Linked DNA regions of Homo sapiens: all the other regions are linked to region 1. The links are contacts of gene promoters, found by promoter capture Hi-C in blood cells and fetal thymus (Javierre and others, 2016). All regions are on one chromosome and are shown on one strand. The core of a region is centred on a gene start or on the middle of the fragment in contact, and the rest is flanking DNA. Distances in the headings are between cores, read along the strand shown. Region 1 holds the start of CCDC27 (coiled-coil domain containing 27). Region 2 has its middle 4.8 kb from the start of ARHGEF16. Region 3 overlaps ARHGEF16 (Rho guanine nucleotide exchange factor 16). Region 4 overlaps PRDM16 (PR/SET domain 16).

The links. Contacts are between HindIII fragments. The CHiCAGO score rates a contact against its expected background, and 5 or more counts as called.
Region 2: a contact is called between a fragment that was not itself captured here and the fragment with the promoter of CCDC27 in region 1, in 2 of 17 cell types (neutrophils and activated CD4 T cells). The highest score is 6.0, in neutrophils.
Region 3: a fragment that was not itself captured here is called in contact with the fragment with the promoter of CCDC27 in region 1 in 1 of 17 cell types (neutrophils); the score reaches 8.3 in neutrophils.
Region 4: a fragment that was not itself captured here is called in contact with the fragment with the promoter of CCDC27 in region 1 in 1 of 17 cell types (neutrophils); the score reaches 6.5 in neutrophils.

The regions. Positions count from the first base shown.
Region 1 is chr1:3,750,546-3,753,772 of GRCh38, reverse strand. CCDC27 (coiled-coil domain containing 27) reads right to left here and starts at 1,323. Exons shown (of 12, transcript NM_152492.3): 1 at 974-1,323. The coding sequence starts at 1,291. The HindIII fragment of the contact is 5,281 bases long and covers 1-3,227 here.
Region 2 is chr1:3,448,187-3,451,518 of GRCh38, reverse strand. No RefSeq gene overlaps it. Among named protein-coding and RNA genes, the nearest start is that of ARHGEF16, 4.8 kb to the left of the region's middle. The HindIII fragment of the contact is 5,295 bases long and covers 1-3,332 here.
Region 3 is chr1:3,469,088-3,472,456 of GRCh38, reverse strand. ARHGEF16 (Rho guanine nucleotide exchange factor 16) reads right to left here. Exons shown (of 15, transcript NM_014448.4): 6 at 2,864-3,024. Among named protein-coding and RNA genes, the nearest start is that of ARHGEF16, 16 kb to the right of the region's middle. RefSeq lists an enhancer at 265-890. The HindIII fragment of the contact is 7,512 bases long and covers 1-3,369 here.
Region 4 is chr1:3,420,906-3,424,444 of GRCh38, reverse strand. All of the region lies in intron 12 of PRDM16 (PR/SET domain 16), which reads right to left. Among named protein-coding and RNA genes, the nearest start is that of ARHGEF16, 32 kb to the left of the region's middle. RefSeq lists an enhancer at 3,281-3,539. The HindIII fragment of the contact is 1,664 bases long and covers 1,070-2,733 here.

The DNA.
Region 1 (3,227 bases), core at 74-2,573:
GCACTAAGCCACTCTCCCACTGGGGTTGAAAGGGCCTGCGTGTGTGCAGGCTGCAGCAGTGTGTCCCCTCTGTCCCCTCTCCAGCACACTGGATGCTCAGCAAGAGCCACGCAGACCCACTTTGGAAACCATAGTCCAGCCGGGCATGGTGGCTCATGCCTGTAATCCCAGCACTTTGGGAGGCCAAGGCGGGCAGATCACATGAGGTTGGGAGTTTGAGACCAGCCTGACCAACATGGAGAAACCCCATCTCTATTAAAAATACAAACAAACAAACAAATAAAATTAGCCGGGCAAGGTGGCACATTGTAATCCCAGCTACTCTGGAGGCTGAGGCTGGAGAATCACTTGAACCCAGGAGGTGGAGGTTGCGGTGAGCCAAGATCGCGCCATTGCACTCCAGCCCGGGTGACAAGAGTGAAACTCCGTCTCAAAAAAAAAAAAAAAAAAAAGAAAAAGAAAAAAAGAAACCATAGTCCACTAGGTCCAGGCAATGCATTCACCCAGGAAGCTGCCAGGAGCCGGGGTGACCATCTCGGGCTCCCCCAGTACACGGTGGCACAGCGTACCTGACTGGCTGAGGTCCCCTTTCACATTTTCTCCCCTTCACTCTCCTTTTCAAGATGCACCTTGGGAGTCTTGGGGCAAACTGTACATCTTCTCCCCTTGGCCAACCAGAGACACCGGGAGCCAAGGTCTGCAAGAGGGGAGGACCAACCCAAAGCAGCTAACCCAGAAGAAGCCGGTGGCATGTGGGGACTAAGGCACCAGGCCCTTCAGAAAGGGAGAGGACCGCAGGGCTCTTTCCACCCCTAGCGCTCAATTCGTTGCCTGCCTGGAATCCCCCTTTGGTAACCCATCACCAGAAGGCCTGTGGAATGCTTTGTGGGCTGACAGCTCTATGGGCCTTTGGGGAGGAGAAGAAACAGGTCACCTCAAGGCTCGTGGCAGCCCTCCTCCCGGGACCCCATACCGTCTTCCTGTAGTAGCGGCTGATGGTCTGGACCGACTTGCTGAGCGTGCGTGGCTTTTGGTGCGGTTTCCATTCTGGGCACCGGGCGTCCCGGCTGGCCATGCTCTGGAGGAGCACCAGGGCCCTGGCCATCGAGCTGGACATCGAACTGTGCCTCTGAGATGGGCTGGCCTCCTTAGGTAACATGAGGCGTGGGATGCAAAGACCAAGTGAGCTTTGTTGCCTGAATGTGGACCTGAATGAGGACAGGCCCGGCTTTTCCCGTGGATCTCTCTTCAGCCTGGCTTGGGGTGTGGAGGGGAAGATGGCCTCGAACATGAACCTGCTGGCTGGTGCAGTGGGAGGAGATCAGCTTCCAGAGCTCCAGGTCCTGTGGGCTCCTGGGAGCAGTGGTGGCATCACAGATGTCTCCATAGAAACCGTTATTGAGCAAAAGGGGCCCGCGGCTGGATGCGCTGGAGGCCAGTGCTGTGACACCAGGTTTTTGAGAAGAGCAAAGCTCAATATTGAAGGTTGCCTTCTGGGCTGGGTGTGGTGGCTCACACCTGTAATCCCAGCACTTTGGGATGCCCAGGTGGGAGGCATGCTTGAGCCCAGGAGTTAAACATTTTAATTAGCCAGGCATGGTGGCGTGCACCTGTAGTCCCAGCTCCTCAGGAGGCTGAGATGAGAGGATCACCTGAGCCTGGGGAGGTCGAGGTTGCAGTGAGCTGTGTTCACGTCACTGCACTCCAGCCTGGACTACAGAGTGAGACCCTATCTCCAAAAGAAAAAAGAAAAAAAGAAAAAAAAAAAGAAAGAAAAGAAAAAAAGAAAAGTCAGCTCCCAAGGACACAGGAGTCCAGCTCAAATGTCTCCATGTGCTGGCTTGAAGACAGTAATTGTATTAGAAAAGGTTAGGCTGGGTGCGGTGGCTCATGCCTGTAATCCCAGCACTTTGGGAGGCCGAGGTGGGCGGATCACGAGGTCAGGAGATCGAGACCATCCTGGCTAACACAGTGAAATCCCGTCTCTACTAAAAGTACAAAAAATGAGCCGGGCGTGGTGGCGGGCGCCTGTAGTCCCAGCTACTTGGGAGGCTGAGGCAGGAGAATGGCGTGAACCCAGGAGGCGGAGCTTGCAGTGAGCAGAGATCGCACCAGAGCACTCCAGCCTGGGCAACAGAGTGAGACTCCATCTCAAAAAAAAAAGGTTTAGGGGGTGGGCTCTGGGATTAGAAACATTTGGCCAAGAAATACCTAGAAGAGTAGATAAGAGTAGCCTGACTCCCTGGGAATGATTTTCCAGGCTTCAAATGCCTACCTCAAGACATCTTTTAAGGAGAGAAAGACAAAACCCCTACCTTCAGAAGCCTTGATTAGGGTCTGAATGGGAAGAAAGGCTTCTCTGCTTGCTGACTGAAGGAAATTTGAAGGGGGCCTGCCCCATCCACACCTGTGGGTATTTCTCTTCAGGTGGAGATGAGAGACTGAGAAAAGAAACAAGACGCAGAGACAAAGTATAGAGAAAGAACAGTCAGCCCAGGGGACCGGCACACTCAGCATGCAAGGACCTGCATCGGCGCTGGTCTCTGAGTTCCCTCAGTATTTATGGATCACTGTTTTTACTACCTTGGTGAGGGGAGTGTGGCAGGGCAACAGGGTGATGGTGGGGAGAAGGTCAGAAGGGAAACGTGAGCAAAGGAATCTGTATCATGAATAAGTTTAAGGAAAAGTACTGTGCCTGGATGTGCACGTAGGCTAGATTTATGTTTCACTTTACACAAACATCTCAGTGTAGCAAAGAGGAACAGAGCAGTATTGCTGCCAGCATATCTCGCCTCCAGCCACAGGCTGGTTTTCTCCTATCTAAGAGTAGAACGAATGGTCGGCTTTACACCAAGACATTCTGTTCCGAAGGATGAGCAGGAGATAGAAATCTTCCTCTTATCTCAACTGCTGCAAAGAGGCCTCCCTCTTTAACTACTCCTCCTCAGCACAGACCCTTCATGGGTATCAGGCTGGGGGATGTAAGGTCTTTCCTTTCCCACAAGGCCACATCTCAGGCTGTCTCAGTGGGGGGAAACCTTGGACAGGCTTTCTTGGGCAGAGGTCCCTGCAGCTTTCCTCAGTGTATTGTGTCCCTGGTTAATAGAGAATGGAGGATGGCGGTGACTTTTACCAGGCATGCTGCCTGCAAACGGATGGTTAACAAGGCATACCCTGCACAGCCCTAAATCCATTAAACCTTGATTCAATACAGCACATGCTTCTGT
Region 2 (3,332 bases), core at 447-2,946, 300 kb after region 1:
AGGTAAATAAGCCTTTGGCCAAGAGAGGCTGGTGGCCTCACTGGGCTACAGGGGACAGAGTTGGGGAGCCAAGGAGGCCAAGGACTATGGAGAGAGTCCTGGAGAGAAGGCAGCAGTGCAGGGGAGCCCCGAAAGAGTCCTGGAGAGAAGGCAGCGACGTAGTGGAGCCCCCAAAATCCCCACAGGGGTCCACTTGAGCCTTTGGCTGAATACTGAACTGTGCATAAGCAGAGTAAGATCCCATGAAGCCAGGGACCAACAGCGACCAGGGAGCTCTGTGAGCAGAGTGACACCAGAGTTCATACCAGGCCAGGGGACGCTGGAACGTCAGCCACCAGGAAGGAAGCACCGTCGCTGACTATCCCTCGTTGACCTCAGCCGCTTGGGAGTCTGAGGTGGGAGGATCGCTTGAGCCTGGGGAGGACGAGTCTCCAGTGAGCTATGATCGAGCCAGTGTACTCCAGCCACTGTACCAAGACTCTGTCTCAAAAAAAGAATGTCTGAAAAATTTCCAAATGTGATAAAAACTTGTAGATCCACAGATCCAAGAACCTCAAAGCAATGGAGAATAAGTCCAAAGAAGTCAAAGCAGCATACGTACAAAGCAGACCCCACCACAGTACCTCATAATGAAATGGCTGAAAACCAGGGACAGAGGGAAAAAATCCTGACCACCCAGAATATTCAGTAGATACCAAAGAAGGCCATGTCCTAGGTGAAGGGCTGAAGTAATCCTAGGGTGACAGCTCCTCTAGACATGACCTAACAGAAGTTCAAAGCAAGTCCTGAGAGGACCAGGCTGATCCACAAGTACGTTAACTGTGCATCAGCATAACACTCAACATGCTTGAAAAGAAGGCCAGTAAAATCCAGAAACTCAAACAATTTGACATTTACGACCTCCAGCACCCAATGCAAAATTACACATTTACAACCTCCAGCACCCAATGCAAAATTACACATTTACGACCTCCAGCACCCAATGCAAAATTACACATTTACGACCTCCAGCACCCAATGCAAAATTACACATTTACGACCTCCAGCACCCAATGCAAAATTACTAGACATGTGAAGAAGCAGGAACAGGAACCTGTGACAAATAACTAGGAAAAAAATCAGTCAGTAGAAGCAGACCCAGAAATGACACGGATGACAGGATTCGCAGAGAAGGCATTTAAAACAACAATCAAAAATACCCCAAAGGATCAGCTGGGCATGGTGCCGCATGCCTGTAATCCCAGCACTTGGGAAGGCTGAGATGGTGAGTTGCTTGAGTCCAGGAGTTCAAGACCAGCCTGGGCAACGTGGTGAAACCCCATCTCTACAAAAAATACAAAAAATTAGCTAGGTGAGCTACTCAGGAGACTGGGGTGGGAGGATCACTTGAGCCCAGGATTTGGAGGCTGCAGTGAGCTGAGCTCGCACCACTGCCCTCCAGCCTGGGCAACAGAGCCAGACCCTGTCTCTCTCTCTCTATACACACACACACACACACACACACACGCGGACACACACGGACACACATATACACACACACACATATATATAATATATACACACACACCACCCAAGGATTTATAGGAAACGATGATCACAGTCAAAGGAGAGATGGAAAGTATAATAATGAATCAAATGGAAATCCTAAAGATGAAAATATACAGTGTAGGAAACAAAAAATCTATTGGATGAGATTAACAGCAGATGAAACTACAGAGGAAAACAATCAGTAAACTTGAAGCCAGGACAAGTTACTCAGACTGAAGCACGCAGAGGAAAAACCTAGGGAAAAGGCAGAAACCGAGCCTTGCCCACCTTGAGACGGTATCAGGCATCAGGCAGTCTAACAATATGTGTAACTGGAGGACCAGAAAGGAGGGAGTGGGGAGGGAAGAACATATGTTTAAAGCAATGGCTGGGTACAGTGGCTCACGCCTGTAATCCCAGAACTTTGCATGACTGAGGCGGGCGGATCACTTGAGGCCAGAAGTTCGAGACAAGCCTGGGCAACATGGTGAAACCCTGTCTCTACTAAAAGTACAAAAATTAGCCAGGCATGGTGGTGCATGCCTATAGTCCCAGCTACTTGGGAGGCTGAGGTGGGAGGATTGCTTGAGCCCAGGGAGGTCGAGGCTCCAGTGAGCTGTGATTGAACCACTGTACTCCAGCCTGGGTGACAGACCAAGACTCTGTCTTATTAAAAAAAAAAAAAAAGGAAGAATGGCTGAAAATTTTTCAGATGTAATAAAAACTCATAGATCCACAGAATCAAGGACCTTAAAATGAAGTAGAATAAGTACAAAGATGTCAAGGCAGCATACGTACAAAGCAGACCACACCAAGGTACCTCATAATGAAATGGCTGAAAACCAGTGACAGAGGGAAAAATCGTAAGGGAATAAAGACCAAAATAACTGCTGGCTTGTCATCAGAAACACTGAAAGCTGAGAGAACTACAACAACATCTTTAAAGTGCTGAAAGAAAACAAAACTGTCAACCAAGATGTCCATTTCTCTTGAAAATATCCTTCAAAAATGAAAGGAAAATAAAGACATGTTAAGGCAAACGCTGAGAAAATTCATCACCAGTAGACCCACACTATAAGAAATGTCACAGGAATTTTTTCAGGCGAAAGGAAAATGATACCAGATATAAATTCAGGTCTGCACAAGGAGTAGAAACCCACTGGAAATGGCAAATATGTCAATAAATGTGAGAGGCTTTTTTTCTGTGCTTCAAAACATTCCTTTTTTTTTTTTTTTTTTAAATGGAGTCTCACTCTGTCGCCCAGACTGGAGTGTAGTGGCACGATCTCAGCTCACTGCAACCTCCACTTCTTGGGTTCAAGTGATCCTCCTGCCTCAGCCTCCCCAGTAGCTGGGACTACAAGCACACACCACCATGCCTGGCTAATTTTTGTATCTTTTTAGTAGAGATGGGGTTTCACCATTTTGGCCAGGCTGGTCTTGAACTCTTGACCTTGTGATCTGCCCGCCTTGGCCTCCCAAAGGGCTGGGATTACAGGTGTGAGCCACTGCACCCGGCCCAAAACAGTTCTTTAAAAGATCAGAGACTAATGTGAAAATAACGACAGTGTATTATCAAATTTATATGTAAAAGTGAAATATATTACAGTAAAAGTTCAAAATGCAGGAGGAGAGAATAGAAATATACCAGAGTAAAGTTTGTATATTTTACAGTGAGTATAATATCACTTAAAGATAGACAATGATGAAGATAAATACTGAAAACTCTAGATCAGACACTAAAAATTAAGGTGAGGAGCTACAGCTAATAAGTCCAGGGAGAAGAGAGAATTGAATCCTAGAAA
Region 3 (3,369 bases), core at 642-3,141, 280 kb after region 1:
CAAGGCCGGGGGGGGGCCAGCTGTGGGCTCTTGGCAGACTCCCTGGAAGGGGCTACCAGCCCCTCACCTCCCCATGACCCAGGCCTTGGTCCAGGGTGATCAGGATGAAGGGAGTTAACACTTGGTCAGAGCTAGGCCAGGGCTGCCAGGATTCTGCCCCCATGGGCGGCCACGGCCACCAAGGCTGGGCTTGGCTGGACCCACGATGGTCACCTGCTGTGTGAGGCGGTGGCTGGAGCCTCGTCCATCCTGCAGACCCTCAGAGCACCCAACCCGAGACCACATCCGTGTCTCCAGGCCGCCGCCACAGGAGGTCCTCCCAGCCCAAGAGCTCTGTCCTTCGGAGGACTCCCTTACCCAGCGTGGAGGTGGGCGGGAGTCCCTCCTCCTCTGCTCACGGGGCCCGACTGGGCCTGCCACCCACGCAGGAGCCACGCTTCCTGCAGGGAGAGTGTCCTGACAGCTGCTTGCCCTTGAGAATCCCCAGCAGATGGAGCTGCAGTCCCCGTGGACGAGGACCCAGCAGGTCATGGGAGGCCTCGGTTGCTGGATGAGCAGGGCCACGACATGCGTACGTGCCCAGGCCGGCCAGGCCGGTCAGCAGCTCATATGGGTGACTGCAGGTTCTGAGAAAGGTCTGGGAGAGCCGCCCACCAGCCGCTTACCCCAAATAGCGATGATTCCCCAGACAGTTCACTGTGAATGCCAGGAGCTGTCGGGGGCCCAGCTGGGGGAGGAGGCCGGAGCTTCCCGCCCCAGGGCAGCAATCTAAAGCCCTGAGGAGGTCAGAGGCAAACATGCAGCTGCCTGAGGCAGAGGGGACCGGAGGACACAGAGCTCAGAGAACACAAAGCCTGCCTGGCTGGGGGCAGAGCTGGGGGAGGGGCAGCCGCTATCCCAGACCCCTCCCCCTCCCCCAGCCCCATCCCATGCTGAGTCAGAGGTTGGGAGTTTCCCATAGCTGGTCCCTGGAGCTCTACAGGAAGCCCCTGTCTCCAGGGACAAGGCGGCTCCCTGCCCACCCTCAGGGCCCCAAAGTTCCGCAAGGGCACCCCACAGGCAGCAGATGGGTGGGACTCGCCAGGGGCGGGGCTGATATAAGAATGCGCCAGCAACCACCACTGTTGGGGCAGCCCTGTGCCAGGCACTACAGGCCCCTAATCATCTCCCAGCGCCACCCAAGCCCACGAGGGGACCAGAGGCACCGCCCCTCAGGTTAGCATTGAGGCTGAGGCTCAGGAGACTCGATGCTCCGGGGTCCTCCTGCATATAGGGAGCAGCACAGGGTCGAGACCACACATACCCCTGCCCAGGCACACACACCCACGCACACACACCCCTGCCCAGGCACACACACCCACGCACACACACCCCTGCCCATGCACACATACCTGTCCATGCACACACACATCCCTGCCCACGCACACACACCCCTGGCCAGGTACACACACCCACGCACACCCCTGCCCACGCACACACACCCCTGGCCAGGCACACACACCCACGCACACCCCTGCCCATGCACACACACCCCTGCCCACACACATACCCCTGGCCAGGCACACACACCCACGCACATACACCCCTGCCCACGCACACACACCTGTCCACGCACACACACCCCTGCCCACACACACATCCATGCACATACACCCATGCATACACACCAGGGTGCCGGATGCTCCCGAGCCACCCTCCGGGCCTTGGGGCCAGCCCACTCACACACACCCCTGACCACGCACACACAGCCATGCACAGACACCCTTGCCCACGCACACACACCTACTCACATACATCCCTGACCACGCAGATACACAGACATCCCTGCCCACGCACACACACCCACTCACACACACCTGACCGAAAACACAGCCACTCACACACACCCCTACCCACTCACACATAACCCTGACCACGCATACACACCCCTGCCCACGCACACACATCCCTGCCTGTGCACACACCCGTCCATGCACACACATCCATGCACACACCCGCGCACACACAACCATGCATACACACCCCTGCCCCACACCCATGCACACACACTGCTGCCCAGGCACACAAACCCATGCACACCTACACACACACATACCTGCCCACGCACACACAACCCTGTCCACACACACCCGTGCAGACACACCCGTGCAGACACCCCTGCCCATGCATACACACCCTTGCCCATGCATACACACCCCTGCCCCCACACACCCATGCATACACACCAGGGTGCTGGATGCTCCCGAGCCACCCTCCAGGCCTCGGGGCCAGCCCACTCACACACACCACTGACCATGCACACACAGCCATGCACAGACACCCCACCCCACACACACACCCACGCACACACACCCCACCCCACCCCACGCACATACCCCCGTGCATGGCTGCAGCTGCATGTCCAGCCTCTCTACCTCCAGGCCCTGCAACCAGAGCTCAGGTCCAGCCACCAGACACCTTTGGGTGGAACATGACCCAGAGCTGCAACTCGAGGCTTCCTGCCTACAGGTGAGCAGCTTGTGGCCACCACTGCCTGGATCATGCAGCCCTCTGTGCCTGGACGTCCTGGTGGGGTGGTGCTTGGCAGTGGGGCAGGGTTGTACCCCTGGGAAGTGCTCCACGTCTTAAGAACGACCAGGATGCCACAGCCCCAGTGCTTAGCCCGGCCCTGGGGCCAGCTCTTGGTGGCCTCAAGGACCCTCAGAGGTCATCACACTCCGCGGGAGCCAGCAGCTGCTCTAAACCATCCACATCAAGGTGCAGCGCAGGCTCCCAGGGGCCTGCTGATGACAGTGCGGTGCCCACGGGGGGAGGCACCTTCCTGGCAGAGGACCCTGTGTGGAAGGCTGTGGCGTGGCCTCACCTCTGACTGGCACCCAGGACATCCAGGATGTTGGAGAAGAGGTGGTGGTGCTCCATCTGGGTCACGGTCGCCCGCAGCTCCTTGGACTGCAGGAACTCCTCCACCAGGATGCTCAGGCTGTGCTGGTAGGAGAACTCCGACGTGAGGATCTCGAACATGGCCTGTGGAGAGGGGCCTAGGTGAGCCCCACAGTGACGCTGGACACGGGCGTGCCTCGGTGACCAATGCTTGGAACAGGAGGACGTGACCCGGGTGGCAGGGGCAGGTGGGGACAGGAACCCCAGACACACCCCTGGATGGGGCTGTCAGAATGGCCAGCTTGGAGATGCCAGCCCGACGTCCCTGGATGCCCCTGGCTGGGTGCCTTATGAGCCGGCTGAAGCTGGGCAACGACCCCCGTCCTTGTCAGAGAAGGGGGTGATGGCAGCCCCTGGACTCCGAGGATTCACCCGGTGACGTGAAGGGGCTCCGTCAGGGCCTGGCGCAGGTGGAAGCACAGCCCGGGG
Region 4 (3,539 bases), core at 652-3,151, 330 kb after region 1:
GCCCCTTGCGGCTGGAAAGTCGTCATAATGAGCGATCGAGGAGGGCTGCGTGTGGAGGGTTCCCCTCAGTGTGGGGCCCTTGGGCTGGGAGTGACCTTCACAGCCACACGTGGTGACCCTGCAGGCAGGGAAAGGGAGGGTTGTTCTCTCCCATTTTTAGAGAGCGGGGCTGAGAACTAGGGGGCCTGAGCGACATGTGCATTGAGCAGCAAGAAAATCATGCCTGAAACGAAGAGGGGGAGCTGGGGATGAGCTAAGGAGGAACCCCATGAGCTCTGTAGATGCACGTGCGCTGCCTCTGTGAAGACAGCCTCCTCCCTGGGGGGCATCCGGCGGGGGGCTGGGACTGGCTTACTGAGAGGCACCCGGCTGGGCTGGGCGACGGTGAAGGGAACCCTGACTGCATGGTTTTCAGTTGCACGTGGGTGCTTGGCATGTGCGTGTGTGCCATGCCTGTGTGTGCACACTTGTGTGTGCTCTTGGTCATCAGAACGCCCGCAGCGGTGCTCATCTGATCCCACAGGCACACACGCACTTGAACATTCTGTTTATATGATCATGCGTTTTCATATTTTGAAAACAAAGCAAGCTCCATGATGCCCATGGCACAGCACACAGAAAGTCTACCCACTGCAGCAGGATCCTGGCCGGGGGGGCCTGGTAGCAGCTGGAGACCAGGCCAGGGCCTCTGTGGGAGCCTCTGTGGAGGCACCAGGATGGGGCAGGGTTTGTTCACCCGGAGTGGGTGTGGCTGTTCTAAGCACAGTGGCCTTCGTTCCCACAGAGGACAGGACTCCGAGAGGCCCCACCCCGCCCCGACCGGTGCCGGTGGCCCGCTCCAGAGCAGCATACTGGTCACATGCCCTTGTCACATGGATGGGGACGTGCCTGGTGACACTCGGGAGTCCTGGCCTCCCAGACCGGGAGGGGCTGTGTGGCTCGGCCTTCTCGGCACGGTGCTGCCCTGTACAGGAGGGGCCTGGGCTGGTGTTTGCTATCACAAAAGCCTGGCGAGGGAGTCTGACCTGCCATCAACACACCCGCAGGGGCCTCCCCAAGGCAGGAAGCTTCAGTCCCACACCTTCCGGGTGCTGCTGCCGGGCCCAGGAGCTCAGCATTCCCCACGTGCAGGGGCTGCGGCCGTGAGAAACTGTCCTTGGAATCTCAGAGCCTGCGAGTCTCCCCCAACTCCCCAGGCTGCCTGGTAAAACCTAGCAAGTCTGAAAATGGGTCCCCTAGAGAACGGGAGGCAGTCCTGGGAGAAGGGCACTCCTCTCCCACGCCTGGCCGAGGCATATCCCCATCCCACTTCGTCCCAGCAAACTTCCCTGGTGCTGCCCTAAGGCTTCATCCACTCAATTCCTGAACCTTCCAACCTTTGCCGGAGGCCAGGCTCACTCTGGCCTCTTCAACAGTAGACAGGAAAAGAAGCATTGGTGATCGAAGTCCCTGAGCTCCCCGAAGTGACCCTCAGCCTTCTCTGCTCCTGATCCCAGGGGCCTGGCCTGTGGGCTTCTTCTCTGGGAGCCCCTGCTCCTGCCCGGGTCAGCTGAGCTGCCTCCGGGCACCCGGGTCCCAGCGTCTCCTCCCACAGCCCAGTGACAGGCAGCGCCCTGGCTTGGACTGGCCATCCACAAAGCCTGCCCTGGGCGGCGCTGCAGTTTTGTTTGACTCGGCCTGTGAACTCACACAAGAATAAGGCCGAGGATGGAGCCCTTTCGGCAGCAGGGTTGGAGATGCTTGGGTGCCCCCCTACCCGACGTGTCCCACACAATCTCCCAGAAAGGAGGGATTTTACACCCTCCAATGCATTTTCTCACATCCCCCACCCTGACACATCCTTAGACTGGAATGGTGGTGCCTGGCCCTGGGACCGCCATGCTTTTGAGGCTGACTGACTGCTGAGAAAGGACACACTGGACTCTGCGTCTCCAGCCCGGATGCAAAGCACCTGCCAGTCTGAGCATTCAGGCTCTGCCCAGCCAGAGGCTTCCCACCCAGCTGGGGCCATGTGCCCCTCTGGCATGTTGAGGCAGCCCAATCTGTCTGCCTGCCTGACTGTCTGTCTGCCTGCCAGTCTGCCTGCTTGCCAGTCTGTCTATCTGCCTTCCTGCCTGTCCATCTGCTTGTCTGTCTGCCTGTCTGTCTGCCTGCCTGTCTGTCCATCTGTCTGTCCACCTGCCTGTCTGTCTGCCTTCTTGCCTGTCTGCCCTGCCTGTCTGTCTGCCTGTCTGTCCATCTGTCTGTCTGCCTACCTATCTATCTATCTGCCTTCCTGCCTGTCTGCCCTGCCTGTCTGTCTGCCTGTCTGCCTGCCTGTCTGTCCATCTGTCTGTCCACCTGCCTATCTTCCTTCCTGCTTGTCTGCCCTGCCTGTCTGTCTGCCTGTCTGTCCATCCATCTGTCCATCTACCTGTCTGTCTGCCTTCCTGCCTGTTTGCCTGTCTGTCTGTCTGCCTGTCTGTCCGCCTGCCTGTCTGTCTTCCTGTCTGTCCGCCTGCCTGTCTGTCTGCCTGCCTGTCTGTCTTCCTGTCTGTTTGCCTGCCTATCTTCCTGTCTGTCCGCCTGCCTGTGTGTCTGCCTGTCTGTCTGCATGTGTGCTCAAACACGGCTCATTCAGTTCCTGGTTTCTTTGGAAATGCAGAGACTTTTGCAGAAAGTCCACCTAATGGCTCTTGCATAAACCCTAGCAATTGTGGATCCGAGGTAAGAAATGGGATTGGAAAAGAAGCTTGTTCATAAAACTGGAGAGCAAGTCCCTTGTGTGAAGCTCTGGGGCCGGGGAGAGCCACGAACAGGGCTGTGCGTTCAATTTGGTTGCAGAGAGCCCTGAACGTGGCCCTCTCTTGCTTCTAATCTAAATAAATGGCCCAGACAGAGAAGTCCATTTGAAATTTAGGGGAGCCGTGAGCCCAGGGCTGCGAGGGAGCAGAGTTCTCCGAGCAGCTGGGGTCTGCGTTGTAAATAAGCTGACAAGCGGCCAGTGAAATTGATGGTCTCACTGCGTAAAATAACACGCCCGTGAGCTCCAAAAGGAAGGAGAACGTGCAGGGTAGCCTGGCCCTGGTGCAATGCGGAGGGCCTTGAGAGGACCTTGCTGTGACCGTGCCTGCTGCACTCCCAGAGAAGCCATTGGCAGGGGAACAACAGAGTATGGGCAGGTCAGGGGGGGTGGCCAGGGCCCCCGAGCCCCTGAGCACTGGGCAGCGGCATCCTTCCTAGGATCCAGTGAGGTCTCCTGCAGCCACTACAGGGGGATCTGCTTTTGGTGACTGTAAAAGTGAGGGAAGAGGAAGAAAGAAGAGATTTTGAAACCCAGCCGTAAAAATACAACTAAAAAAGAAAGGACATGCACGGGCCGCGTGCAGCCCCCGATGGAAGCACAACTGTGCCTCCCTTGCACGCTCCAGCTTCACACAGAAGGCAGGATGGAGCCTGGGGAGATGATGGAAGCACACGGCAGACTAGGGAGTCAGCAGCCCTGAGGCAGGAATCTCGGTCCCAGCAGGAGTCCCGGGCAGCCCTGCTCGCATCCAGGC